Linked DNA regions of Homo sapiens: regions 1, 2, 3, 5, 6 and 7 are each linked to region 4. Evidence: promoter capture Hi-C in 16 types of primary human blood cells and fetal thymus (Javierre and others, 2016). All regions are on one chromosome and are shown on one strand. Each heading gives the region's core, a stretch centred on a gene start or on the middle of the fragment in contact. The rest is flanking DNA. Distances are from core to core; before and after follow the strand shown. Region 1 has its middle 14 kb from the start of TRR-TCT4-1. Region 2 has its middle 35 kb from the start of FCER1A. Region 3 has its middle 8.6 kb from the start of ACKR1. Region 4 holds the start of DUSP23 (dual specificity phosphatase 23). Region 5 has its middle 15 kb from the start of AIM2. Region 6 holds the start of AIM2 (absent in melanoma 2). Region 7 has its middle 36 kb from the start of ACKR1.

Evidence for each region. The method cuts DNA at HindIII sites, captures the fragments that hold promoters and counts their contacts. A CHiCAGO score of 5 or more calls a contact.
Region 1: a contact is called between a fragment that was not itself captured here and the fragment with the promoter of DUSP23 in region 4, in 5 of 17 cell types (M2 macrophages, endothelial precursors, M0 macrophages and 2 more). The highest score is 11.5, in M2 macrophages.
Region 2: a contact is called between a fragment that was not itself captured here and the fragment with the promoter of DUSP23 in region 4, in 6 of 17 cell types (M2 macrophages, megakaryocytes, endothelial precursors and 3 more). The highest score is 14.2, in M2 macrophages.
Region 3: a contact is called between a fragment that was not itself captured here and the fragment with the promoter of DUSP23 in region 4, in 8 of 17 cell types (M2 macrophages, endothelial precursors, megakaryocytes and 5 more). The highest score is 36.2, in M2 macrophages.
Region 5: a contact is called between a fragment that was not itself captured here and the fragment with the promoter of DUSP23 in region 4, in 5 of 17 cell types (megakaryocytes, endothelial precursors, M2 macrophages and 2 more). The highest score is 6.7, in megakaryocytes.
Region 6: a fragment that was not itself captured here is called in contact with the fragment with the promoter of DUSP23 in region 4 in 1 of 17 cell types (total CD8 T cells); the score reaches 5.4 in total CD8 T cells.
Region 7: a fragment that was not itself captured here is called in contact with the fragment with the promoter of DUSP23 in region 4 in 5 of 17 cell types (endothelial precursors, M2 macrophages, erythroblasts and 2 more); the score reaches 14.0 in endothelial precursors.

What each region holds. Positions count from the first base shown.
Region 1 is chr1:159,125,680-159,129,811 of GRCh38, forward strand. It overlaps a transcript of AIM2 not described here. Among named protein-coding and RNA genes, the nearest start is that of TRR-TCT4-1, 14 kb to the right of the region's middle. The HindIII fragment of the contact is 2,642 bases long and covers 904-3,545 here.
Region 2 is chr1:159,265,131-159,268,984 of GRCh38, forward strand. No RefSeq gene overlaps it. Among named protein-coding and RNA genes, the nearest start is that of FCER1A, 35 kb to the right of the region's middle. The HindIII fragment of the contact is 3,267 bases long and covers 940-3,854 here.
Region 3 is chr1:159,211,531-159,215,419 of GRCh38, forward strand. No RefSeq gene overlaps it. Among named protein-coding and RNA genes, the nearest start is that of ACKR1, 8.6 kb to the left of the region's middle. The HindIII fragment of the contact is 6,582 bases long and covers 1-3,889 here.
Region 4 is chr1:159,778,889-159,782,783 of GRCh38, forward strand. DUSP23 (dual specificity phosphatase 23) reads left to right here and starts at 2,074. Exons shown (of 2, transcript NM_001319658.2): 1 at 2,074-2,479; 2 at 3,265-3,655. The coding sequence starts at 2,213. The coding sequence ends at 3,450. LOC101928264 (a long non-coding RNA gene) reads right to left here and starts at 493. Exons shown (of 3, transcript XR_922193.3): 1 at 338-493. RefSeq lists a silencer at 2,009-2,398 and an enhancer at 2,390-2,966. The HindIII fragment of the contact is 4,062 bases long and covers 848-3,895 here.
Region 5 is chr1:159,089,447-159,093,796 of GRCh38, forward strand. It overlaps a transcript of AIM2 not described here. Among named protein-coding and RNA genes, the nearest start is that of AIM2, 15 kb to the left of the region's middle. The HindIII fragment of the contact is 1,199 bases long and covers 1,835-3,033 here.
Region 6 is chr1:159,073,704-159,077,506 of GRCh38, forward strand. It overlaps AIM2 (absent in melanoma 2), which reads right to left and starts at 3,063. Exons shown (of 6, transcript NM_004833.3): 1 at 2,930-3,063. RefSeq lists an enhancer at 3,505-3,803. The HindIII fragment of the contact is 734 bases long and covers 1,449-2,182 here.
Region 7 is chr1:159,238,656-159,242,657 of GRCh38, forward strand. No RefSeq gene overlaps it. Among named protein-coding and RNA genes, the nearest start is that of ACKR1, 36 kb to the left of the region's middle. The HindIII fragment of the contact is 6,426 bases long and covers 1-4,002 here.

The DNA of each region.
Region 1 (4,132 bases), core at 975-3,474, 650 kb before region 4:
AATAATATCTACTTTTCATGGATTTTGTGAAGATTAGAGGCTGTTTTTCTAATGTGAATGGTTCATGGCTGACCCTTTAGAGAAAAAGAGGAGAGAGGAAGGTGTTTAAGTAAAAAGTGCTTACTCCAGGAAATGCAGGGGTAAGGTCGGCCTGTGTGTCAAGGCATCAGAATTTCAGGTAGAGTTACATCCAGATTTCCATGACCTTTGTGGACAAGAGATTAGAAAACATGCAGTTCTCACAGTCACTCCTACTGTGACTATAAGAATTCATGGCTACAAAAAACACTTCCATTCTAGGGCCAGGAATTCTGAGCAAAACATTTGCAAGTCAGTCCACTCCAATCTATTGCTTGATGGCCATTCTAGACCCTCGAAAGCTGTGTGCAAAGGAATGTTCCTTCATTTCTGCCTCTAACTTGAATCTCTTGTTTTCTGACATTCTCAGCTTCTCAAAAGCCTTCTGAACACATTCATGTGATGAGAGCTATTTCCTGTCTGAGAATGGAAGTCAGGGAAGGACGAAGGAAAATGCAAGACTAAACTGCCACTGGCCTGGGAGTCTCCACCCATTTCCTGCACTGTGGCCACTGCTATAGGTAGTTACCAGGTAATATCTCTTCCTCCAGTTTGCAAAGTCTCTGGTATTATCAGTTATGAAAATGTAATCTAAAATTGATAGAATAGGCCGGGCACGGTGGTTCACGCCTGTAATCCCAGCACTTTGGGAGGCTGAGGGGGGCGGATCACGAGGTCAGGAGATCGAGACCATCCTGGCTAACACGGTGAAACCCTGTCTCTACTAAAAATACAAAAAAAATTAGCTGGGTATGGTGGCGGGTGCCTGTAGTCCCAGCTACTCGAGAGGCTGAGGCAGGAGAATGGCGTGAACCTGGGAGGCGAAGCTTGCAGTGAGCCGAAATGGCACCACTGCACTCCAGCCTGGGTGACAGAGCGAGACTACGTCTCAAAAAAAAAAAAAAAAAAATTGATAGAATTACTTTGGAAAGCAAGAAAGCATACCCTGGTGAAACCGAACAGGAATATAAACTATGACTCAGCAATCCAATTCCCAAGTGTATAATCTGAAATTGCTTGCTCTAGGAGATATAAGATTATTCCAACAGCATTGTTTATAATAGACAAAAAACCTGGAAAAAAACTGCATGTCCATCAAAGGCAGAATGCATTAATACATTGTGTTATACTCACACCATGGAGCATTATCCATTAATGAACATAAACTGTTGTATATTCAAGAACATGGACAAACCTCAAAACACAATGGTAAAGGGGCCAAAAACAACTCATATAAGAATATGTTTCCACTTACATAAAGTTTAAAAAGCAAAACAAAGTAATATATTATTTGGGGATAGCTATATGTGAAATAAAACTATAAACAAGCCAGGGGATGATTGGTTACCTACCCCTAGGGACTGAGAAAGAATGCAATTGATGAGGTTCACCCGAGAGTCTTCAAAGAACTAGTGATGTTCTCATTTTAAGCTGACTGGTAGGATCCTGAGTGTTTATTTTATTATTGTGATTATACTTTCTAAATGGTTCATATACATTCCATATACCCTAGGGTATGTATAATTTATTTCACAATAAAAAATTAATGTAACCCAAATGTGCACGGGGCCCTTAGGGTCGCCTCTGCTCTCACGCCACACTATCTTGAGTCAAGTAACAGATCAGTGTCGGCCCTGACTAGTGTTATGGTCTGAATGTCTGTGTCCCCACAAAATTCCTATGTTGAAATCCCAATCCCAATGTGATGGCATGGGGCCATTGGGAGGCAAAGTCTCTGGTATTATCAGTAATGAAAACACAATCTAAAATGGATAGTATCACTTTGGGAAGCAAGAAAGAATACCTTGGTGAAGCTGATCAGAAATGTAATCTATGACGCAGCAAAACTATTCCCTGTTGGGATCCTTAATGGGATCCCTAATGGGATTTCATAAGTGCTCTTATGAAAGAGGGACAAGGAAGTTTGTTCCTTGTTTCCACCACATGAGGACATAGCCATCTATGGGTCAGCAAGTGGGCCCTCACCACACACTGTATCTGCCTTGACCTTGGACTTCCCAAGGCTGGATTTCTCATAGCCTCCAGAACTGTGAGAAATAAATTTCTGTTGTTTATAAACCACCAGGTCTGTGGCACTTTGTTGTAGCAGCCCTTTCCCTGGAGTATTCATCTCCCTACTTCTCATGTCACCAACTGAAAGTGCCTTCTTTTTCATCTTAACCAAAGTTAGTCTGCCCATCAGTCTCTGCTGCAATCTCTTAATCTGTTCCCTTCATAACAAACTCATTACAAACTGCAACAACTTTGTTTACTTGTTTCTGTTTCTTTTCTTTTTGTCAGTCTCTCCTAGTAGAACACATGCCTCTGGAGAGTCAGGACTTTGTATGTCTTGTTTATTGCAACCTCCCCATCTCTCAGCACAGTGCTTAGTATAAAATAGTTGCCAGATATGGTGATAGGAGTGTGATAATAAAAAATGTATCATAAACCCACAATAAAATAATTGCTTTGTTATAAATTGTCATCTTATGTGCCAAGGCTTACACACACACACACACACACACACACACACCACCCCAAGCCCTGCCATTTTTCTGCATGACTCTGGGGTTACACGAGTGGCCTGTCCAGAATCCCGTCCTCTCTTTCCTTTGAGTTTTCTATCTCCATTAAACTTCTATTTGCCTTTACTGCAACCACTAATCCAGATTTTTTTGTGTGTTTAAAGTAATAAATATTCTGTACTTGGAGAATGGCCTAGTATCGTTATAGCGAGTTCACTCAGTTACTCCCACTCTTTTGACTGCTTTTGACCAAGCCAGTAGTCCTCTATCCGACTTCTTCACCTCTATGGCCTTCCATGGAAAGCCACTTGCCAGTATCCTAACCCCCTCTGCCTTTGTCCTTCCTTCCCTCCCACACCCCCTCTTTCCAGGATCTAGATACTTTAACTCTCAGCTTCCTCAGTGTTTGCACCCGGGCTGCTAATCATTGCTAGGGAAAATCACACAACTATAAATTCATGACAATAAACTTCATCTGGTTCTCCACACTGCTCCACAAACTACATTTCCTAGTCAGCTCACTCTTCATATTTTAATAATGATACTTCAAGATTTCTTCACTCCCCTTATATGTTTGATCCCTCTACATTGGGACACATTCTCAGCAAATAACCCACATTGTTACCTCACAGAAATTATCAAGTCCACTTGTCAGAAACTCATCCAATCTCCTAACTGCAGTGGATTGAACAGTGGACCCCAAAAAGACATGCCCAGGTTTTAACATTTAAAACCTATGAATGTGACCTCATTTGTAAAAAGCATCTTGCAGATGTAATTAATGTAAGGATCTTGAGATGAGATCATTGTAGATTTAGGGCGGGCCTGGAATCCAATGGCAGGCATCCTTACAGAGAAATGCAGAGAGAGATCTGAGACACAGAAAAGATGGCCAGGTAAAGACAGAGGCAGAGTTTGGAAGTATGCAGACCCAAGCTAAGAAGCTTGTTCAGAGGAGTGAAAATCTGCTTACATCTTGACCTTGATTTTGGACTTCTGGGTTCCAAAACTTTGACAGAATAAATCTCTGTAATTTCTGAGGCACCCAGTTTGGGGAAATTTGTTATGGCATCTCTAGAAAATTCATGATGCTAACTAAGCTGACAACTGCATTTGTACCTGCTCTATCCACCTTCTCTTCAGTTACAGTACTAAGGGTTGAGTCTACAGCCAGGTTGTGAACCCAACAATAGGACACTGTGGTTAATGGTGCAAGTCTCAAGCTAGATTGACTGGGTATCAATGCTGTCTCCACCACTTACTATGTGATGTTGGTTACTCAGAGTACCATTCTATGCCTCAGTTTCCTTATCTCAAAAAAACAGGATAACAATAAAAAGTACCTCTGTAGGAGAGGCTGTGTAGGAATTAAATGGAATCATGCCCTCAGAACAGTTACTGAATAAGAGGGGAACAACTTTCATTACTACTATTATCATTATCTCTGACTGCCTCCTCAAATACTAAACTATCTATTGATTACTCCTCTCTCTTGTTCCTTCAATGTTTGTCTTTATGAGATAACTTCC
Region 2 (3,854 bases), core at 1,323-3,822, 510 kb before region 4:
TGAGTGAGAACATTTGGTGTTTGGTTTTTTGTCCTTGCGATAGTTTGCTGAGAATGATGGTTTCCAGCTTCATCCATGTCCCTACAAAGGACATGAACTCATCCTTTTTATGGCTGCATAGTATTCCATGGTGTATATGTGCCACATTTTCTTAATCCAGTCTATCATTGTTGCACATTTGGATTGGTTCCAAGTCTTTGCTATTGTGAATAGTCCGCAATAAACATATGTGTGCATGTGTCTTTATAGCAGCATGATTTATAATCCTTTGGGTATATACCCAGTAATGGGATGGCTGGGTCAAATGGTATTTCTAGTTCTAGATCCCTGAGGAATCGCCACACTGACTTCCACAATGGTTGAACTAGTTTACAGTCCCACCAACAGTGTAAAAGTGTTCCTATTTCTCCACATCCTCTCCAGCACCTGTTGTTTCCTGACTTTTTAATGATTGCCATTCTAACTGGTGTGAGATGGTATCTCATTGTGGTTTTGATTTGCATTTCTCTGATGGCCAGTGATGATGAGCATTTTTTCATGTGTCTTTTAGGAGTTTTATGGTGTCTCATCTTACATTTAGGGCTTTAGTCCATTTTGTGTTGATTTTTGTATATGATGTAAGATAAGGGCCCAGTTTCATTCTTCTGCATATGGAGATCCCGTTTTCCTAAGACCATTTATAGCAAGATTCTGATGAATATTTTCCACATGAAGATGAAATCAGCTCTTCTTTCCTTATCTCCTGAAAGCAGATCATCATGAGTGGTATTTTCAGAACACTCTAATTATTTTTTATGTTACTAATTGTTTCCCTGGAAGAGTTTGTGCACTGGTCAGAGTTCCCATTTGAAGGAAAGCCAGAAATGGTAGCTGTTTTGGGAAACATACCATGTGGGAAAAGAGTAGCTCATTTCTGAGCAGATAGTACAGAAATATTAAAGCTTTTAAAACTACTAATATTTTATAACTTTTAAATATCTAATGTCATAATTAATCTCATTCAACATTTATAAAACTTTATGAGGTAGCTTTCTTTTTTTTAATAAAAAATCCCATTTTACAAATGAAGAAACTGAGGCTCATGGAAGTATATAACTTCTTGACGTTCACACAGTTAGAAAGTGCCTAGCCAAGGCTGTTAGCTCTGCGGCATCATCTCTCCTTCTGGCAAATAGGCCTCGGACCTTTTCTCATTCTCATAAAGTAGGGGTGATGGTGTTCCCTTTGTGCAGGTAAACCAGCTCTCCTTTCTCTGGACCTAGGAATTTCTGGTATTTGAAAAATCATTTCTCCCATTTTCTACCACCCCTCACTCTTCCCACGCTAACTCTCTCTCCCCATAAAGAACCCTTTAGTCTATCTCTACCACTGTTTTTCTAGGTTGGGAGCATATACCTAACTGAACTCAGCAACTACTTGACTGTGCCATTCCTCCCAAGTAAACATGGAGAGCTGGGAGGACTCTTGGGGACTGCAAAAGTCCTAGAAAGGGAGAGACACCTACCACCTGGCTTCACATACTCTTCTTTGAAGGACAAAGTCTTTGTTCCAGCTGATAGGATTCAAGTTTATATATAAATGAATAGAAATGCTTTTTCCTCCTTGAGCACTTGTTTCAGGTGTTGTGACTGCACCACTTCCTGTAACTTCTCATTTCCTGTTTTCCTCTGAGAAAGCCTAACATGTTAGACAAGGAAACAGGCTCTATGTCTTCATGAGGGTACAGCCTCTCTAATACTTACTATCTGTGTTTCCAGATCTTGGGAAAAAGTGAATATGAAGGACTACTATCTTCTCAGAAAACTGACATAATTCCCTACATAAGGCCATTGTGGGCTTCGAAATGGAAGAGATAGATAAGGGCCTCCGTTTCTTGACCTTGCTCCTTTAATATGGAACCTAAAGACATCCAAGTGCATATCAGTTGAGCAAGTCTGTTAGTGGAGATCAGAAGCGCCAGCTCATGACTAAGCCACTTGGAGAGTTTACCACAGCAAGGTGGTTTTGACTGTTATACCACTTTACATGGTTTTTATTCTTATTCATACATTTGTTTCATATATGTCCATAATAGGTCATTGGTTAAGGCTACAGATCATAAAGAATATTCATGTTGAAATATAAGTTAATGAAGAGGGGCACATGTTCTCAGAACCTCCTGAGGGCTGTGTCATGGGCAAAAAGAAATATATTTTAAAGAAAAAAGTTAATAAGGAACATAAAAATGATCACTTAGAAAATCCATGTGATGATTAAAATTAAAATTAAAAATAACAATTATAAACATTTTAAATTTTCAAAAAGTTATAAAACTATATATTAGATACTACGTGTTCACCATGCCATATTTGTCATAATTGTTTCCTACCTCTTTTTTTATAAGTAGTAATATTTATAGATGTAGTCAGAAATTCACCTCCATCCTTTCCCCTTCCTTACTTCCTCCTTTCTCAGAGGTAACTACTATATTGAGTGTATATAGAGTATTCCTTTGCATGTTTATACCTTAGTACATATGTCTATATCTATAAATATTCGATCTTATTTTAAGTTTATGTATGTATTCTATTTCTAAAATTTTTCCATATTGATTGTCAAAAATATCTTAATCTAAAAAATATTTTATAGTACATCAAGATGTTAACACTTAACTAAACCCTAGTAAATTAAGCACTTGAAAACTCAGCATGAATATTATTAAATAAAATTTTGTAGGCTCTAAATGCTAGAAACAAAAATCAAAATCCTCAAAGAAATTTGTGTACATTTCTGAGATAATGCAAAGTAGTTAAATTTCAATCTTCATTTTAATGCATATATTTTTATCCCCAAACTTCACAGATACCTTATTTGAGTCCTTGATTTCCTAGCTTATGGCCCAATTCTAGGTGAAGAGCACCACATTAACTCCCAACAACCAGGAACTCCCTGTATTGAGAACTGGGCAACTTCATCTTCAAGAGCCCAAGAGCTAGATCTCCATTCTGTCATGAGCCAAGATGTCTCCATCTCACAACTATGTTGAACTCCACAACCATCTAAATCAGTTAATGTCCTTAGTCTACTGATGATACCCAAGCCCCTAAACACATGTTGGAAATTGATTCCTCCCGTGGGTCCACAAGTATGCTTATCTTATAGTCCTAACATAGACTGCCATGATTTCCTTACACACATAAGGTAATAAAATGTCCTTCAGGAGAACATAGGGCCTTTCTTTGAAGGGGAAGGGCAGTGGAGTAGGAAATAGAATAATTAAAAGAGAAAGGAAAGATCCAGTAATGAAAACAATAGATCAAAAGGTAAACAAATTAGTTTTTTAACCATATCCTGGTTCAGTTAATATTTACCATCTATAACTTTGTGTTTTGTTGCTAGAACAAAGACCTTGCCTGTAACAACACAGTATAAGAAGCCAAACAGTGAGTGTCTCTCCACTGTGATAACTGCTGCTATCCCCCTCAGTACTCCTGAAAACCCATGGAGAGTGTGATGGAGAGGCATCTTCCGGGTATCCTGCTCCTCACCACTCTCTCGAGAGGTGTGACAGTGAGGTAGGAACTGAGCTAATGAGCTAATTGGGAAGTTTCCTCCACGTCCCAAGAGAACTAGAATATAAGACCTATTGTTGGTTTTGTTGCTGCTGCTGCTACAGTTTCAGAAAGGTATGAATGAAGGTTGGCATATGAGTAACCTATTATTCCAAAACAATCTGCCACAAAATTTAACAGCTTGAAACAACAAATATTTATTAACTCTGGTTTTCTGTGGGTCAAGAAATATAGAGTAGCAGGGCTAATGATTCTGAATGAAGATCTTTCATGAAGTTGAAGTCAATAAATGAGAGCTGTAGT
Region 3 (3,889 bases), core at 1,172-3,671, 570 kb before region 4:
ACCTCCTCAGATTGCATCATTCTCAGGGAGAGCCCACTACCCCCCTTGGACCGAAAAGTCACCATGCTGATTTTTTTTTTCTTCGGTCTTCTCTCCTTCCTTTTAGTTTCAACTTAGCTCCCCTTCCAACCCTACCCCTTCCCCACCTGTGAACGCTGGTTCCTACTCTCACCTTCTGGCCTCTGTCGCCCCCCTGTGGCAATTGATGTCTCTGCAGTTTTGGGAACAGGATCGCCCTTTAAGGCACTTAGGGGTGTATAATTAATTTCATTTAAAGAATTTGTTGAGTATCCACTACATTCAAGATGCTAGTGAAAGTACTGGAATACTTGGAAATGAATCATACACAATTATTGGCATCAGAATCTCTCTGGGCCCACCTGGTCCCCCATCCCCTTCCTTCCTTCCTTCCTTCCTCGTTTCTCAAAATTTCCCAGTCCTCTCCCAAACAACCTTGAACAAATTTGGATCCCAGAACACATAGAAGATCCACAAATCCCTCAGTCACCTAGACTTCTCAGAGCAAACTTCTATTTCACAGTCAAAGGTCCGTAGCAAATCGCACAGCCTCTAGTCAGTGAGTGTTCCTGTCTCAGTGTCATGTTCAGAAGTGTTCCTTACATGCAGACACACAGAAGATACAAGAGCAAGAAGCTCTTGCCCTTTCACACTCCTCCAGGGTGGTTGCGGTGGATTCTGGAAGCCAACGCACTGAAAGACAATTGCCCAGAGTAGAGGGAATGGGTGTGGAGCCTTGGAGAAGAAAGTTCTTTACAAATTAGTTGGCCCTTTCCTGTCTGTGACCTGATGAAGAGGGGAGGAAGAAGTGGACTGTCTGTGCGATCTGCCTGGATGCTTCCAAAAACACGACCATGCTTCTCCTCCTCCCATCATCTCCCTCAAGCCCCAGAACAGGGTTGTTCCCTTCACATACTGGGTTGATTGACGGGGGACTTCCATGGAATGCTTTGGGGAATGTGACAAGAGCAAGTGAAGGGAAGGTCACTGGGATAGCAAACATATGCAGAAATTAAATAAAGTATTATAGGGATTATGCAAAACCTGCGTTTAAAAATCAATTGCACAAAAACAGGATGGAAGATACCTGGCTCAACAGAAGTTCTTGTAAAAAAAAATTTTTAAAGACTTAGAGGTTTCACTTGGCTACAAGCTAAAGATGATTCAATAGTGCATGTGGTAGCCAAAACACTAATGCAGACTCAACTGCATTAAGAGACAAAGTGTACAGGACGAGGGAGTGCACAGCACCACCCCTGCCCTGGACAGGCCATAGTTAGAATAGAGGGCTTGGCTCTGGGTACTGCATGTTTAAAGGCCACTAACAAATGAGAGTTCTTAAAAAGGGGGTGGCCAGGCTGGGTGCAGCTGCCACGCTTATAATCGTAACATTCTGGAAGGCTGAGGTGGGCAGATTGCTTAAGCCCAGGAGTTCCAGAGCAGTCTGGTCAACAGGATTAAACCCCATCTGAAAACACACACACACACACACACACACACACACACACACACACACACACAAATAATACAAAAATTAGCTGGGCATGGCGGTGTGTGCCCGCAGTCCCAACTACACAGGGGGCTGAGGTGGGAGGATCCCTGGATTCTGGGAGGTCGAGGCTGCAGTGAGCCGTGATCGTGTCACTGCACTCCAGCCTGGGCGACAGAGTGAGACCTTGTCTGGGAAAAAAAAAAAAAAAAGTGAAGACAAGGCAGAGGGAGCTAGTGGCCAAAATGTTGACAATCTAGAGACCATGTTACTTCTACATGGAGAGACTAAAGGTGCAAGGGGGTCAGGGGTGGGGGAGATTTACACTGGAAATGTGTAGAAAATATATAGTTGTCTTTAACTCAACAGTTGTGCTGTTCAAAAAGCATTAGGCATGTATGTAGCTTCAGAATTAGAAACACTGAATGAGAAGAAGTAACAGGGAGGCTGGTTTTGGCTGAATGTTAGGAAGAGCTTTTGACAATTCAATCTGAGCCACAGAGATGGCTGTCACATTCTGGAGGGAGGGAGGGAAGAAGTGGAGGGAGGAAGGAAATGTGTATGAGCAGACCGTGTGTTATGCACTGCTCTGTGTTCTTGTTTTACAGTGGTGAGCATATCAGATGTGGGCCTTGCCTTTGTGGTGTTTGGAGACTAAAGTGAAAGGCAGTAATTAGACACATAAACACACAAATAAATTACAAATGCTGTTATGAGATAACAGCATTTAAGAGAAATGCAAATAAAAAAATTTTCATCTCTGGTGCAAATAAGAGAAAGAAAATAAGAAGGTAAAAGCAATTTGAGTTATGAGTTCATAGCTACAGAAAGGATCCAAGCTGTGGCTTGACGGTAATAAATTATCAAAATGTCACAGAAAGCATTCCCTGAATTGGGTTAAAGCTGGGACCAGTCCAGCTGCTTTCTTTCAAATTGGCAATACATTGGAATCACCTAGAGGAAGATTTTCAATAGTCCTTGATCTAATCCAAGATACCATTAATCATAATTTTTGGAACTAGAAGACTCTGAAACTCTGTGATAATATGTTAAGTGAAAGAACTAGACTAAAATGCATAATCTTTGATTCTGGTGTCTGGGTTTCACTTGTGATGACTTTAATCTCTTTGCTTGCGTTATGGAACTAAATTCCTCTGATTCAGAGCTAGGATACCTTTTCTCTTCAGGAGACCAAACAACGAAGGGATTCCTAGCCAGATATGCACCTGACCTGAATTTTTCCAAGAGGTGGGTACCATTCCAGGCACTAGCTGCTGCAGAGAAATTGTAGCTGGTGCCTGGGGTCCCTCTAGTGGTCAGAAGCTGTCACTTCAATTCGCTTCTCTGGCCCAGGTTTGGCCAGAGAATTAGAGGGATGCAGGAGTCCCGCAAAAAGCAGGCAAAGAAACCTAAATACATGTATATTTCAGAAGGTTCTTCTTTATAATTAACACTAAAAATAGAGGTGACATAACTCACGAATTTCTTTCCAAATTTTTCCTGACCCTTTTTACCTTGTCTTGGCTAATTTAAATTTAGAGAAAGAAGGGAGTTGAGAGAGATACAACTTTTAGAAACCAGAGTAGACAGCTCCCCAGGATACCAGGCCATCAGTTAGGTATTCCAAGTTTCATTTTCATTCCCTGGCAAAATGCAAAACATATCAGAGTTGGGTGGTCAGATAGAGCACTGGGTTGAGTAGGGAGACATGAGTTGTGCATTCTGAGCCGTAGCACTTCGCAGCTTTCTAAGTTTCTAAGAGAAAAAGCAGGTAATGACACCTTCCTTGCCTGGCTCACAGGTCTGATGTAAAGATTAAATGGGATGACTGACAGATGTGGAAGCTCTGAAATCAGTTACAGCTGGGAGGAAATACACTGCAATTAGTATTAAAGAAGAGTTTGCCCTGCAGGCAATTCGAAAAATGTCCATTGCCTTTTGGGGTCACTTCACCCTAAACACAAGTTCTTACAAAGGCAGGAGCACATGGGAGCTGGACTGCTAGGAGTTAGCCTTCCAGCTCTGTCTTTGGGTGTGTTCTCAGCCCTGTGACCAAAGGACTCACGGAATCTGCCTAAAACAGTGTTTCACAGGGACCTCTAAGGAAGAATTCCCTTACAACAGGGGTCAACAGGGGGCAAGGGAAGGGAGCAGGTGATAGTAGTGATGGTAATGGGAGCTGTTGGTGGGTATTTTAATGGCATTTGGGCTGGCTTTTCTGCATTATAGTATTGTTTAGAGAAGGGCTTAAAATGCTCTTGAATTGCCACAAAATCTTTGATCATACTTAACCTTATACAGGGACCCTCAAATGACCACATTGCAACTTTTCTCACAACCCTCTCCTGTGGGTTATGTTCCTTGGTGTCCTTTGGAAGCTCC
Region 4 (3,895 bases), core at 824-3,323:
CACTCTGGGTCTGCTGGAAGGGAAGGGCAGAGCTTCCTAAAAAGGGAGCCAACTGGCCTCTCCACATGGAGGCCCTAATGGTTTGATGGATGCACTGCTAGCCCTGCAGAAACCCACAAGAGGGAGAGAATCATTGGTAGGGGACTCAGGGAAGAGGAAGATCTCGGTCTCCCAAAAAAATTTTCTCTTTCTGGAGAATATGGGCTTCGAGCTGGATATCAAGGAGGCAAAGAAGGAGCACATAGGAGGGTAGGGAGTGAAGTGGAAACTTCCCTGGTGAGTAGGGGAAGCAAAGAAAGGAGAACAAGGCAAAGGGACTAAGAAAAGATTAACTTACAAGAACAAATGCTAGAGTCTTGTCTCCAGAGGTAGTGCAACCAGAAATCCTGAAGAGCAGTTGAATTGAGAAGAGAAGTGGGAGGTCAGGGGGTTGGGGGAAGAGGTGACTGGTGGCTGAGAGGCCATGGCTGGGAAAGAGAGAAAGGAATAAACTGGGGAGGGCTGGTAACCTTGATAGGAATTTATGTAGGAAATGAGAGTGCAAACAGGAAGGGCTTAATGAGGGCTGTGATTGTCTGGAAGGAGAAAAAGGGGAGATTTGGCACCTCCTGGAACCTGGGGAAAGTAATTGTCTGGGTAAATGGTAAGTGTATTTCCCACAGGGTCAGAGCAGGCTTTGATCTTTAGGAGAAGACAAATTGCTTTCCATCTTGCTGAAGCCAAAGGCTTAAATGGTCAGACGTGTGTCATAGGTGGGTGCAAAGGGAAGGAAATATAATACATCCTCATGGCCAAGTGCCCTGGGCTTGGATCACTGTGTCCTTGGCCAAGTTAACCAACTTCTTTAAGCTTCCAATGATTCATGTACAAAAAAAGATACAAAAATACCTTTCACATGTGGTTCTTCCAGAAAGCGCTTGGCACAGGGCCTGGTACATAAACAAATTCAATAAGGGTTAACTATTTTCATAATTACAGTTAGTCTGCATCGCTAGAAGCACATTATTCAAATGAGGATATGGACTGGTCAGATGACAGTGGAAACGGTGTTCAGATCTAGGGGCCCCCACCTAGTAAGAACAACACTAATCAACTCTAGCCTGCCCAGGGGACAGTGACCCAGAGAACTAGGAAACCTTGAAAAATGAAGAAATATGAAATACTAATAAAAATTAAGAAAACCCACAAGCGTTTAACCCAGATAATATTTGGGGACATGAGGGGGTTATGTGAAGAGAAAACAATGTTCCATTTAACTTTAGGAAATGGCGATATTATTAAAGATTTTGGAGGCATTAGTCATCATCCTTTGGTCAAGTTTATTAACCTCTCCAGTGCCTCTGTTTTTTCATCCATAAAATGGGATTCACTAGATCACCTATCTTATAAGATTACTGTGGCAATTAAATGAGTCAGTATGTGCTAAGTGCTTAGAAGACTATCTAGCACATAATAAATGCTCAATAAGTCCTGAGGAGCAACTGGATTGACAGGAGAAGTTGGTGCTGGTTATTATTATTACTATAATTATTACCCTGGGTAAGTTTTTAATAGTTCCAGCAATGAAAAAATGAGAATAGCCTCCTTGCAGCAGTAATTCCCTCTTACTGGAACAGTTCAAAAAGTCGCTGATAACGACCAGTCAATCATTAGAGAGGAGACTCCTCGTCCTGGGAGAAAGCCGATTTGTCATCTCTTAAACCCCAGGGCATCCAGCGTGAAGGAGGTAGAACTAGGCCGGCCCGCGAGGAGGCAGGGGCAGGCGCCAGTGACGCAATGACTGCAACATGCCGCCAGGGTGCAGCAGAGCCCGACCCCGGGTTGTTCCATCCGCAGCAAACAATTCCTAACTCGCTCCAGGTCTTCCTTCTTAGCTGAGTGGGTTGAACCCCGTGGAAGTAACCCCCCGCCCATTATGATGATCCAGCCAATCACCGCGTGATCTGCTCGGACGGGGCGGGATCGCGGCGCTTCCCTCGGTCGCTCAGAGACTGGGTTCCGCGTTCCAGCCCCGCCCCAGGTTCTGGGCCAATCCCCGCGGCTGGGCAGAGCGACCCGAGGGCGGCGCCCTGCAGACCACGTGGCCCGGGAGGCGCCGAGGCCAGGTAGGTGGTGAGTTACTTGGCTCGGAGCGGGCGAGGGGACGCGTGGGCGGAGCGGGGCTGGCCAGCCTCGGCCCCCATGACCCGCTGTCCTGTGCCCTTTCCCAGCGATGGGCGTGCAGCCCCCCAACTTCTCCTGGGTGCTTCCGGGCCGGCTGGCGGGACTGGCGCTGCCGCGGCTCCCCGCCCACTACCAGTTCCTGTTGGACCTGGGCGTGCGGCACCTGGTGTCCCTGACGGAGCGCGGGCCCCCTCACAGCGACAGCTGCCCCGGCCTCACCCTGCACCGCCTGCGCATCCCCGACTTCTGCCCGCCGGCCCCCGACCAGATCGACCGCTTCGTGCAGATCGTGGACGAGGCCAACGCACGGGGAGAGGTCAGCGGGCGGGGTCAGCGCAGGGAGGGAGGGGCCTGGAAGGTCAGCGGGGGACACGGGCGGAGCTGGGGAGACCGGGCCTGGGATAACTTAACTGGGCTCGGGGAGGCAGACAGTAGGGCCGGGAGACTGGGAAGCCAGTGCGGGGGAGGGAAGCGCTAAACGGAAGGAACTAAAGAGAGGGCGAAGCAGTGCGAACTGGGCTTGAGGAGAGGCAGTGAAAACCAGCTAATACTGTGAGTTGTGAAGGAGAAGGGTGTGGACAGACACCTGGGAGAGGTGGGGGTTGAAGTCAGGTGGAGGCTGTTTACCATTTTCTAGAGTAAAGCTGTCCAAATATAATGGAACCTAAGTGGCTCCATGTAATGTTAATTTTTCTAGCAACGGCATTCTTAAAAAGCAGGGAAGCAGATAAAATTAACTTTGGTGATCTTAATGAGATATTTTCATTCTTTTTTCTACTACCTCTTCATACCCTGTTGCGTTTTTCACACTACATCTCAGTTTGGACTAGCCACATTTCGAGTACAGTAGCCACAGTAGCCGTGGCTACTGTCTTCTGTATTGAACACCACAGGTGGAGGGCTGTGTAGAGGTGGACAGCTCTTGAACCAGCCAGTGCAGAGGCCTCCTAGCCACCTAGTGCAGGGACAGCCCTCCCTGACTTTGCTGCAGAGCCCTGGACCTGGCACAGAAGAAGGAGCTGTGGGGAGAACCAAGTGAGGGGCAGGAAACAGTTGTGGGTGGGGGAGTTGAGTGGCACCCATCGAGCCCCCTCTTCGTAGGCTGTGGGAGTGCACTGTGCTCTGGGCTTTGGCCGCACTGGCACCATGCTGGCCTGTTACCTGGTGAAGGAGCGGGGCTTGGCTGCAGGAGATGCCATTGCTGAAATCCGACGACTACGACCCGGCTCCATCGAGACCTATGAGCAGGAGAAAGCAGTCTTCCAGTTCTACCAGCGAACGAAATAAGGGGCCTTAGTACCCTTCTACCAGGCCCTCACTCCCCTTCCCCATGTTGTCGATGGGGCCAGAGATGAAGGGAAGTGGACTAAAGTATTAAACCCTCTAGCTCCCATTGGCTGAAGACACTGAAGTAGCCCACCCCTGCAGGCAGGTCCTGATTGAAGGGGAGGCTTGTACTGCTTTGTTGAATAAATGAGTTTTACGAACCAGGGCACGTTGCATGGTACTTTATAAAGCATTCCCACACATTAACTTACTTCAGCCTCACTGTAGCCCTGTGATACAGGAAAGACAGATGGGCCATCTCTGTTCTTTGGATGAGGTGGGCAAAGCTCAGAGAGGCCCATCTTCAACACTTCTAGAAAGTGGAAGGATGGGCCAGAACAGCAACACACGTCTTCAATCCCTTGAAGATGCTGAAATGCTATGTATCTGTTCCCTGACAATATTT
Region 5 (4,350 bases), core at 1,184-3,683, 690 kb before region 4:
GATCAGGATAGAAGCACAGAAGGTAGACATAAAGCATGTCACTTGCTTAAAGAAGCCCCTGTGTTGGATTGTTTGTTCAACCCCCTTACCTACAGGCTCCCCTGCTTAGTTTCACTATCTGGTTCTCCCTTAAGAAGTTTCTTTCCTAGTTTCACTCCTTTACTCTCAGGATAGCTGAATGCAAAACCAAACAAACAAACACAGGATCACTCTGCTTAGTTCTTTAAATTATGTACCAGTCAAAACAAAAATGGCCACTCAAAACATGTACCCTGAGTCCCAGAATCACACAATCATAAGAATATACACATGGTTTCCTACGACGAAGTTATTCTTCTAAGCTTTCCATAAATCACTGCTCTTTCATCTCTGCCCTACCTATTCTATCGGTTTTTAGTTCAGTAACTATTTGTTTTCAGTAACTGGACCCTAGACCCTTCAACCAGACAACCAAAGTGCCTATTTTCCCAGCTGCTAGAAGTGTTACAGCTGACACCTGAGTCTGTGTTCCAGGACTGCCCTATGCTGAAGGGAACTGCCTTCCCCAAGGTTGCATCCTTCCATGGAGAAAGCCTGAAGCCAAGGATTTAGGGTCTATGAGGAGGTTCAAGGTCACAGCCTTCTTGCCTCACTTAGGCATAACTAGAGGCCATCCCAGCTCTAGGGTTCCCAGGGGGATTGGCTGCAGCCCTCACTGCAATTTAACTTCTCCCTCCGCCCAACCCAGTTTCCCTCTCTCCTTTATAGGTGTTCCCAAGAGCACCCTCTAATAAACTTCTTGCAGGCAAATCTAACAGTCTGTTTCTTGGGGACCCAACATAAGACAACATTCAACTCTTAACTTCAGTCATATTCACAAATACTGTCACTTTAAATAAAGTGCAGGAATGCAGTGTAAAGATACATACACCAGAAAAAGATGTGACTATAAAGTGCAAAAATATACCAGAATGTAAAAATAATACATGAATTTAAAGTCCATGAATCAGTCTCTCTCGCATACTGCTAGAAAGCGTGTGACTGCTTCACATTTCATAATTTTGTCATTGTAATTGTCATCACGCCACTAAAATTCCATGCCTTTCAATTTTTGTTTTTGTTTCTATCTCTAAATAAAAATGTTTATTTAAATGCCTTCTATGGACACTTCAGACCAAGTCCAAAACTTTACCTTAAGGTGAAAACTCTTACTATTTTTCCTACAAGGTTGTGTTTGGGAGGTTATTCATTTGTCTTTTATTTTTTACCATGAGCTGTTTGTCTAGTCTCCTGACATGGTAACTGGAGACACAGATCCCTCTGTCAGAGTCAGCATCAAACATGTGTAAGGCATGTTTTGACTCTAGCAAACCATCAGGGAAATAATTTTTGATCGTTCTTTGAGTTAAAATTGTCTTTTACATTGATGCTAAAGACTTTCCCTAAGCAACCTCTACCACATTAGCATAAAGTGTCTGAGTTTCAAAGATTCCACCTCAAATGGCTCCCTTGTGTTCAGCACCATCACTCCCTCCTGGTATTCTTCTTCCTGAGTAACTTCCTATTGACCTCCTTTCCCTTTCAGTCTCTTGCTGAAATGGAAACATCAGAATGAAGGGGCAGGCTGTATGTGGGAAAGATGAATCACCATTAAATGAGAAACCTCAATCCTAATGCTAGTCTTGTAGAAATTGGCTTGTATGGTCCTGAGAATGGTAAAAATAATTAATACAAATAACTTTAAACATTACTTAATAAAGTAACAAATAATACAGCTAGAAAAGAGAATGATAGGATAAAGGTTACATTTTTTATATTTAGCCATTCTTGGTCTTATAAGTGTAGAAGACAGAAAAGCTTGTGTCCAATCCTATTAATACCTTAAAGCCATGTGTGGCATTACAACCACTGAAAAAATGCTGGGTAGAGTCAGTCCACAATGACATGCTTGTCACGACGTGCTTTGGCAGGTTCTGCCTTTCCCTTTACTTATTCTAGGCTGGGTCCCTTTTGACTACTGTCAGCAGTGAAGAGGAGGAGAAACTCCTCTGATTTCTGAAGATTCACAAGTTACAAGACTATCTTATATGCTTGAGGATGGCCAGCATGTAACTGGTGACAATGAACAAAATTATATACTTACAAAGTGCAATCGTTACATTATCCTGATCATCTCTTGTGTTGACAGCAATCTGTAGGATGGGATGAATCAAGGCAGCCAGCTGAAGTCCTGCCCTCTGGATGCCCTTGGGGGAAGGTATTTGGAGAGTAACTTAGGGGGTGATGTATAAAGGATGTGGTAACAAATGTTATGAGTGTGTGTGTGTTCACTGACACACCAGCAATTGCCAAAGCAAAAATGGTGGCTTCGTCCCTCTCTATTGAAAAGGGCCTGCTTAGAATGTGGATGCTTAAACTGCTGTCACCTATAAAAATATTCTAGCATGAAAGGGGCCTCAAGGATACACAAAACAGAAAGTAAATGGTATCCACTGAAGTTAGCAATGTAGCAGGGCCACAGGAAACAGAGGGTGATTGCCCAAGGGCACACACACCCTAAACATAGTCCTATTTCTAATGTTCAAATTAAGGAAAAAAACAATTAAGTGAAATCCTTAGGTGAGTCATCTTATCATGAATTAAAAATTATTGAAAAAAGAGGGCAATTATAACCTAACAATTCTAATTCCTGATATTTGCTGTAGGAAACAAATATATAAACTCATTTAAATAAATGACTATTCACAATTTTAGCAGTAAAACATGAAAATATTATCTGAACATGCAAAACTAAGAGACTAACCACCAAAGTGACTCAGGAAATGATTCACCATGTTGCATAAGCTGAAAACAATTAAGTTACTACATAATATGTAGAAGATGGCCTAAATGTTATAAATATATATATGCAGCAGGAGTTTGTAATAGCAGATAACAATTTTAGCCCTAACTATGAATAAGTTAAACTCCAAAAACATACTCCGCAATTACACAGATTAGAGACTGGCCCCTCTTCTGGACCCAGGCCCACATTATCAGACTGAAGGAGGTTAAAGCTTATTTTCTGAGGACAAGGAAGAACACGGTGAAGGGTAAGGTGGGAGAGGTGGGGAAGCATAGGCAACATCATGTCAGGAAGTGGAGAAGGAGGTGAATCCTCATGTCCTAAGTATTCTCTAGGCCCAGCCACAACTCTGGGAATAGGAACAATTGTACCTACGTTCAGACAGAGAAACCAAGATGCAGAGGAAAGAGGATAGGTTACTTGCCTGAGGTTACAAAGGTGTAAGTAGAGGAGTCAAAATTTGATCCCAGGGGCTGGACACACTGGCTCACGCCTGTAATCCTAGAACTTTGGGAGGCCTAGGTGGGCGGATCAATTGAGGTCAGGAGTTCGAAACCACCCTTGTCAACATGGTGAAACCCCATCTCCATTAAAAATACAAAAAAATTAGCTGAGTATGGTGGTGGGCACCTGTAATCCCAGCTACTTGGGAGGCTGAGGCAGGAAAATTGCTTGAACCCAGGAGGCGGAGGTTGCAGTGAGCCAAGATCGCGCCACTACACTCCAGCCTCGGTGACAGAGTGACGCTCCGTCTCAAAATAAATAAATAAAAATAAATAAATAAATAAATAAATAAATAATTTGATCCCAGAACTTTTACTTCCAGAGGCTGAAATCTTAACCCCATACCATTCTGATTTCGCATAAATAAAATACTGAAAGCACATTAACCCATACAAATACACAAACACACGCAACTTCATGACACTAATGGAAAAGAAGTACTAATGACAGCATATATATAATTCTACAAGATCTAGCATGATACTTCAATTCCCCTTCTCAGCTATACAATATTAAAAGGCATCTAAATTTCCTGAGGGTCAGTGCAGTGACGTAGCCAGAACACACTGAATTCTGGGAGAAAAATTGGATTTAATATTTCTTACAGATTAACAAATCTTATTCACTGCTGGTAGCATAGGGAGATACAACTTGTTTGGAACATAATGCTGTATTATCTATTAATTTTGAAGACACATACATCTTATGACACAGCACTCCCAGTCCCAGCAAGACTTTTAGCAGCACTGTTAAAGCCAAAAAACGGGGAAACCTGTCAAAGGGACAAATAAATTGTGGCATATTCATGGATACTCATGTGCTGGAATACATTACAGCTGTGAAAATGAACTGCAGTTATGACATAATGAAGATCAGCAAGTTACAGAGGAATGTATATAACATTTTATTTATTTAGAAAATATATATATACATATATATGTATGTGTATATATATATACAGAGAGAGAGAGAGAGAGAGAGAGACGGAGTCTTGTTCTGTCACCAGGCTGGAGTGCAGTGGC
Region 6 (3,803 bases), core at 566-3,065, 710 kb before region 4:
CTTCAGAAAGTATACAACACCTCTGGAATTCTCAGAAAACAAGATACATTAGCTGGGCGCGGTAGCTCACGCCTGTAATAATCCCAGCACTTTGGAAGGCCAAGGTGGGCGGATCACCTGCGGTCAGGAGTTTGAGACCAGACTGGCCAATATGGCAAAACCCCATCTCTACTAAAAGTACAAAAATTAGCCGAGCATGGTGGTGGGCGCCTGTAATCCCAACTACTCAGGAGGCTGAGGCAGGAGAATTATTTGAACCTGGGAGGTGGAGGTTGCAGTGAGCCAAGATCGCGCCATTGCACTCCAGCCTGGGCAACAGGAGCGAAACTTCATCTCAAAACAACAACAACAACAACAACAAAAAGGAAACAGGATACATTTTCCTGTTATTTTTAAAATAGATTTATCGAGGCATAACTGGCATACAACACGGTGCATACACTGGAAGTATACAATCTGATAAATTTTGGCATATACATATACCTGATGAAGTGCAATTAATCAATCTGTTCTTTCATGGATCATGCTTTCAGTGTCTTATTTAAGAAATCTTTTCCAATCTCAAGATTAGAAGATTTTATGTCTTCCTGTAAGAATTTTACGGTTTGATCATTTCACATTTGGCTGTATGTACTGCTTTGAGTTAATTTGTATATGATATAAGTGATGATTCAAAGTTCATTTATTTTTCATATGAATATGAATTTTCCCAGAATCATATGTTAAAAAGACTGTCATTTTTAATGATTTTTTTTTTTACCTTTGCAAAAATCAGTTGTCCAAATATGAGTGAGTCTATTTCTGGATTCTTTATTCTGTCCATCAACCTATTTTTGTAACTTGTTGCCAAAATCACGTTGTAGTAATATAGTTGTTTATGTATAGTATCCAAAATAATACACAAAACATTATAAATAATAATTCAACAGTTTATAACTATAAGATTAATATACAGAAATGCATTCCTTTATTTTAGTACCACTCCAAGAGAGAAAAAAATTACATAAAAAAAGTAATTTCCAATAGCAACAAAACTACAAAGTACATAAGAACATCGAATACAATATATTTAAGAGTTTTAAAGGGAAACTTATAAAACTTTATTGGGAGATTTAAAGGACCTACTTAAGTGGGTGTATGTCTGATATTTTAAATGGGAAGATTTGATAAAATGAAGACAGCAGTGTTGTCAAATTAATCTATAAACTCCTATCCAAAATCTCAAAGGGTTTTTCATAGAATTTATCAGAATGATCCTAAAACCTAAATGAAAAAAATAAAGACAAAAACCTGCAAAACAAGTTGAATATGTTTATCAGGATGTACTATCCCTACTACTAGGTATCAATACTTACTACAAATGTATAATTATTAAATCAGTATGGCAGTGGCGTAGAAAAAAATGAACTAATAAATAGAGTGTGGAAACAGGACCACATGTAAATTAAAGCTTGGTATATAATCAAAGTGGCATTAAAAATCACAAGGAAAGAATGGCCAACTATAAAAAGTGTTCAGACAAATGACAATACACAGGGAATGATATATTCAGCCTTTCTCTTATATCATACACAAAATATATATCTGGTTGGATTAATTATCTAAATAGAATAGTAATGATGTTGAATAAAACACAGAATTTCTCAATACATTGAAGTAGAAGGAGGTTCCTTAAATAAGGCACAAAAAGGACAAGCCAGAAAAAAAAAATTTGTCAAATGTGATTGCATGCATATTCTCAATTTCTTTGTAGGAAACACACACATCCGTGCACACACACACACTAAACAAAGTGATTATACAAGGCAAAAACTGGGCAGATACCTGCAATACACACACACACACACACACACACACACACACACACACACATATATATATGGCTATACCTGCTATATATATATATATAGAGAGAGAGAGAGAGAGAGAGAGCTAATAGAGGTTTTGCTTTTGGAATACATGGAGAACCATGTATCAATAAGAAAACAACAGTCTATTTGAAAAGTGTGCAAAAGATGTGAATGAGCAATTTGCTCAAATATCCAATAAACATAAAAAAGATGTTTGACATTATTAGCAATTAATGACTTCCAGAGCAGCAACATATAAAGTGGAAGAAATAAGCCAAAGAACAGGAAAAGATGTTTATGAGCTGAAAATAACTGATTGTGAATTTTAGGGAAGCTTGAATACCCCCATCAGTAGAGTCAATGTTAATAAATTCTAAACTATCACTGTTAATGGCCTTATAATGTTTTTTCCTATATGTTGGTAAGCGCTGGAGAAACTCTACTTATACATGTAGAGTTCATGAGTGAAAATTAAAACTATTATCAGGACCATTTTCAAAATAAGGAATACATTAAAAATATTTGCAATGATAAAGCCATCCAAATGCCCCCATCCTACTGATGAAAGCAAGGAAGGACACTACCTTTGTTGAATATCTACTGTGACAATCAGCTTGGATGATTCCTACTTTTCTACTTGTCCATAAGAAGCTAATCTTCCTATAACCCTCTTATATAATAACAATCACATTTTAATCACATTTTATGTGATTGACTCAGTTTTTTCTCTGAAGTTATGTTGCCTTATAAATGAAAAACTTGCATTTTACTTCATAATATCTGTTAACTTAAAAAATGCTTGTATTTGCTATTGGCATAAAAGTCAGCCTTACAAATAGGCTGATAGACAAACCCCAAAGGAAGCCGAAGCTTAAGGAACACCAGCTCAGAGACACCAGAGGACATGGCTAAAGTGAATAAAAGAGAAATGAACCCATCCTTTCAGAGCTGATGTCCATGTTTGCAGGTTCAGGTTCTCAGAGGTGTGCACAGCATGGCTGGCCTTTCCTCAGTTGTCTTTTTCAGCAGAGAAACGGTTAAGTCTCTCGTCTCTAACCCAGCTCCTCTATGGTGCTTACCTCCTGATCCCTGGGGCGATCAGCAAACCGGGTCTGCCACCTTCTTTTCAGAGAGCTTAACTAGCAGAGGACTCAGGAGAGCATGCCCAAATAACCTAGGTGACTTTCAAAGCTACAAAGACTCTGACACTTCTGGACGGCTTCACATGTACCCCTAATAAACACTTCCCTTCACCCCCAGGCCCAGTGTGGGTAGGAGTGACAACTGGAGCTCTAATTGGCTGAGCTGGTTTGGGTTCTCACTAGCAGCCACAGAAGAAAATGTCTATAGAAACTTGTATCTGAGTCATGCCACATAGGAACTACACTGATTGGAAACAGAAAGTGGCCTAGAAACTGTAAAAAATGACCGCAGATGACTTCTTGATACACTTTGTGACTAAGGGGCCTGGTGATGACATTTTTCTGGTATAAACAAGCACACTGATCTCAGAGGGTATCTAAAAGTGTTGCCAGTAGGGCAGTGCAGGTTCTTGTCTTCAAAGCATAAGAGAATCTGAAAATGAGACCCAAGCGAAAGTATAGACATTTTATTGTGGAGCAAAACCAACGACACCCTCAAGGGAGGAGTGCAGGCACTCAAAGATTTGAGTCACAGGCAATGTGGTTCACGTACTATATGAATAAGCACAATGAAGGTATGGAGTACTCTGTAATCAAGGGGAGGGGTTTTCTGGGAAATGGGCGGGCAATTCCCGGAATCGGGGTGCCACCCTTTTCTTGACTAAAGATGGTTAATCCGGAACTGTCATGGCGTCAGGTGCATGATGGGAGTGGGAATTTCCCCATGGAAGTTTTATGATATTAAGGGCATAATGAAGCTAAGGGTCAGCAGTCAGCCAAGTTTTCGACCATCTTGGCTTTAACCAGTTGC
Region 7 (4,002 bases), core at 570-3,069, 540 kb before region 4:
TGATTAAAGGAATAAGAGATTTTTCTGAAATGAAGGCAAGGAAATAAGTGTCTTGGAATAAATAGATATCTTATGAATCATGTGTCCATTTTATTTCTTAACCAAATGTAGCCAGCTTATAAACAGAACACCAGGACATATGCAACAATAGATAATTTCAGACATCTTTGATGTTTTGACAACTTTCAGTCATATCAAAACCATAACTTTATCCATATTTTAAGTTTTGATATTATGAAGATATATTTGCCTAAGATTTTAGAACATATTTTATCTACCAATTTTTTTCACTTGACTTATATTGTATATTGATACAAATATACTCAATTTGTACTTCCCAGTAACTCACACATGTTAGGAGCAGTCATTGCTAGTACATCTCAGTGTTTAGCTGGAGTAACCATTCTTTACGAAACCCCAATTTCACAACTTACTGGAAGGCCAATGCCTGCCCATACTTTCTTTGAATGCTCAGAGGTTTATATTCTCATACTTGCCTCTTGCTCCTGCTGCATTAGTTGAGTTTCTAGACTGCTTCAAGTCCAAAACATACGTCCCCATTCATGTGTTCACCTTGGTGTGGAGACTGCATTTTTTCTGCTTCCAATTTCTCACATGTGGCATCCATCAGACTTTACTACAAGTTTGAAAAGATGATTTGCATGTTGGTCGTCCCTGCCCTAGGTTATTGTAGCCACACTGCCTTGAAAAGTAGTTCCTTTGTGGCACCTAATGGATTGCAAAGGCTTTTCCCTGTTTCAAGCTCCTTTTCCTTCCTATCTTTCTTCCCATCTCGTTCTCACTCATTTCTCTGCCATATCCGCCCTCACTCTTATGGGCTCTGAATTCTTCCCATACTATAATACAGAGCAGAGCTCTCTCTAGTCCCTACTCCAAAACTCCGTTCCAGGCCCATAGTGGTTGCACCAAAATCCATTAAGGTGAAGTCAACATTGCAGCAGAAAAGACCAGCAGAGTCCCCAAGACTATTTTTAACAAGATCCGTCCCCCAGTCCCCTTTAGAAGGCAGCTGCTGTTTTAAATAGCAGTATTCACTTTTTTTTCTCGGTTTCACCAGAAATGGTTTCATAATCACAAGAATATAGGCTTGTGACCCATCAGGACCTAAGCATAACAGCATGGCTGCTGCTAGTGGGTGTTGTATTCATTCAGAATCACACAATAATTAGATGGATAGCATAGCTTTATTCAGAGTGAAACCTTCCTTTCACAGAAGAATGAATAAAGGTAAAATAGAGGTACTCTTGTAGATCTGAAAAACAACTTTCATGGGCTAGCCCAGGGGGAATAACCACTGGGAGGAGGGGTGCTTACCTGAGTGTTAGGATGCCGGATGCCCTTGTCTGAGATTGCAGTGTGACTCATTTCCTCCCAGAGAGCTGCTAGAGATTAGGATATGGGTGACAGGAAAGCTAATTGCCTCAGCTTACCAAGTGGCTCCCCTTAAAGGAACACTTATGGCAGACAAGATCACTTTGGGGAACAATAGATCTTTCCCACTTATCCACACCATCTTGAGGAAAGGCAAGAATCTTCTGGGGACCATGCATCTATCCTGCTACCCCTTCCATCCTCAAGAAGACTCTTACTGGCCCTCATGAAAGTCCTCCCTTGTTCTCGATGCAGAGAAGTGTCTGCAGACATTTATTCCTGTAGTCTTCTGCTTCCTGCTCACCCTCTGGAACCAGAGTCAGGGGCTATTCAGATTGGCACAGCCAATGTGTTCTACTGAAGAGCTCCTCTGCTGCTGTGTTTTGAACCCATGACCCTCACCCTGAGCACAACCAATTGGCCCAGGTAAGGGTGGTGCTGATGCAAATGCAGCATCAAAAGGCTGTCCAGTCACCTCTCACCTACAGATATTAGGTTGGTGCAAAAGCAATTGTGGTTTTTTTCAATTACTGCAAGTACTTTTGCACCAGCCTAACATAATCAGTCCTAAGCCTGAGCAATTCTACTTCCTAAGTATTTCTCCCTCTTTTCTGTTCACATCTCTTCTTTTATAGCTCTTACTTGGATTGGTGGAATAGCTCAATAACAAGCCTCTTTGGATCAAGGGTTATTCCTCTTCTTCCAACTGTTCAAAGAGTGATATTTCTAAAATACCAATTGGATCACATCATTTCTATAGTTGAAAGCCTCCAGTGTCTTCCCTCCAGGAGCACTTAGGGTAAAGTTCATACTTATTGGCATAATTAAATTGTCTTTATAAGCTGGACCCTGCTTATCTTGAAGGCATTATATTTCTGTATTTCCACAAGCTCCTTCCTGCTGCCCATCATCCTGTACTCTACACTCTACTTATACCAAACTATTTTTGGTTTTCCTAACACTATGGTATCCCTCTAGGCCCTTGTGCATATTATCCCTTTTGCCTGTAACAAAGACTTGCCACAATCACCCTGCTGGTAAAGTCTTCCTTTTCATTTACTTCTCATTTTGGGTGTTACTTCCTACAAGAAGATTTTCTTGACCCCCTAGGCTGGATTAAATACTTCTTCTATGTGTTCCCATAATTATTTCTTAACTTGTCTTCCTTGGCTATGAATTCTCTGTGCAAGAAATTTTGCTTCCTTTATTTCCAAAGCCCTGCTGAAGGCTGAGCATACAGGGAGCACTCATTACAACTTTTTAAAAAATTCATTTATATTGGATATTGATAAATTATACTTGTATATATTTATGTGGTACAAAGTGATGCGATGATATATGTATGTAATGTGGAATGATTGAATCAAGCTAATTAACATATTCATCACCTCAAATACTTATTTATTCCTCCTGTGTAACTGCAACATTGTCCCCTTCGACCAACGTCTCCCCTTTTCCCTCATTTCCCAGCCTCTGGTGACCACCATTCTGCTCTTTGATGCTATGTGTTTGACCTTTTAGATTTCACATGTAAGTAGAACATGTAGTATTTATCTGTCTGTGCCTGGCTTATTTCACGTGGCATAATGTCCTCCAGGTTCATCTATGTTGCCGTGAATGATAATTTCCCTCTTTTTAAAGGCAAAATAATATTCCACTGTGTGTGTGTGTGTGTGTGTGTGTATCTTTTTTACTCATTCATCAGTTGATGGGCACTTAACTGACACAATAGTCATAACTTGGCTATTGTGAATAATGCTGCAATAAACATGGGAGTGCAGATATCTCCACAACATACTGATTTCAAATCCTTTGGATGTATAACCAGAAGTGGGACTACTGGATCATATGTTAACTCTATTTTTAGTTTTTTGAGGAACTTTCATACTGTTTTCCATAATGGCTGTATTAGTTAACTTTCCCATCAACAGCATGCTAGGGTTCCCTTTTCTCCACATCCTCATCAACATTTATCATCCTTTGTCATTTTAAAAATAGCCATTCTGAGAGGATTGAGGTGATATCTTATTGTCGTTTTAATATGAATTTCTCCAATAATTGGAAATATTGAGCAGTTCTTCATGTATCTGTTGGCCGTTTCTATGAGTTCTTTTGAAAATGTCTATTTCAGGTTCAGTGCCCATTTTAATATGGTTATTTGTTTTCTACTGAGTTGTTTGAGTTCCTTATATATTTTAAATTTTAACCCCTTATCATATACATAGTTTACAAACATTTTCTTTCATTCCATAGGTTGCTTCTTCACTTTGTTAATTGCTTTCTTTGCTGTGCAGAAACTTTTTAGTTTGATGTAATTCCATTTGTCTATTTTTGGTTTTGTTGCCTGAGCTTTTGGGGTCATATCTAAAAAATCATTGCCTAGACATATATCATATAGTTTTTAACCTATGTTTTCATCTAGTAGATTTACAGTTTCAGGTCTTACATTTAAGTCTTTAATCCATTTTGACTTAATTTTTGTACATGATATGAGATAAAGGTCCAATTTTATTCTTTAACATGTGGATATCCAGTTTTCCCAATATCCTTTATTGAAGAGACTGTCCTTTTCCCATTGTGTATTCTGGGACCCTTTCTGAAAATTAATTG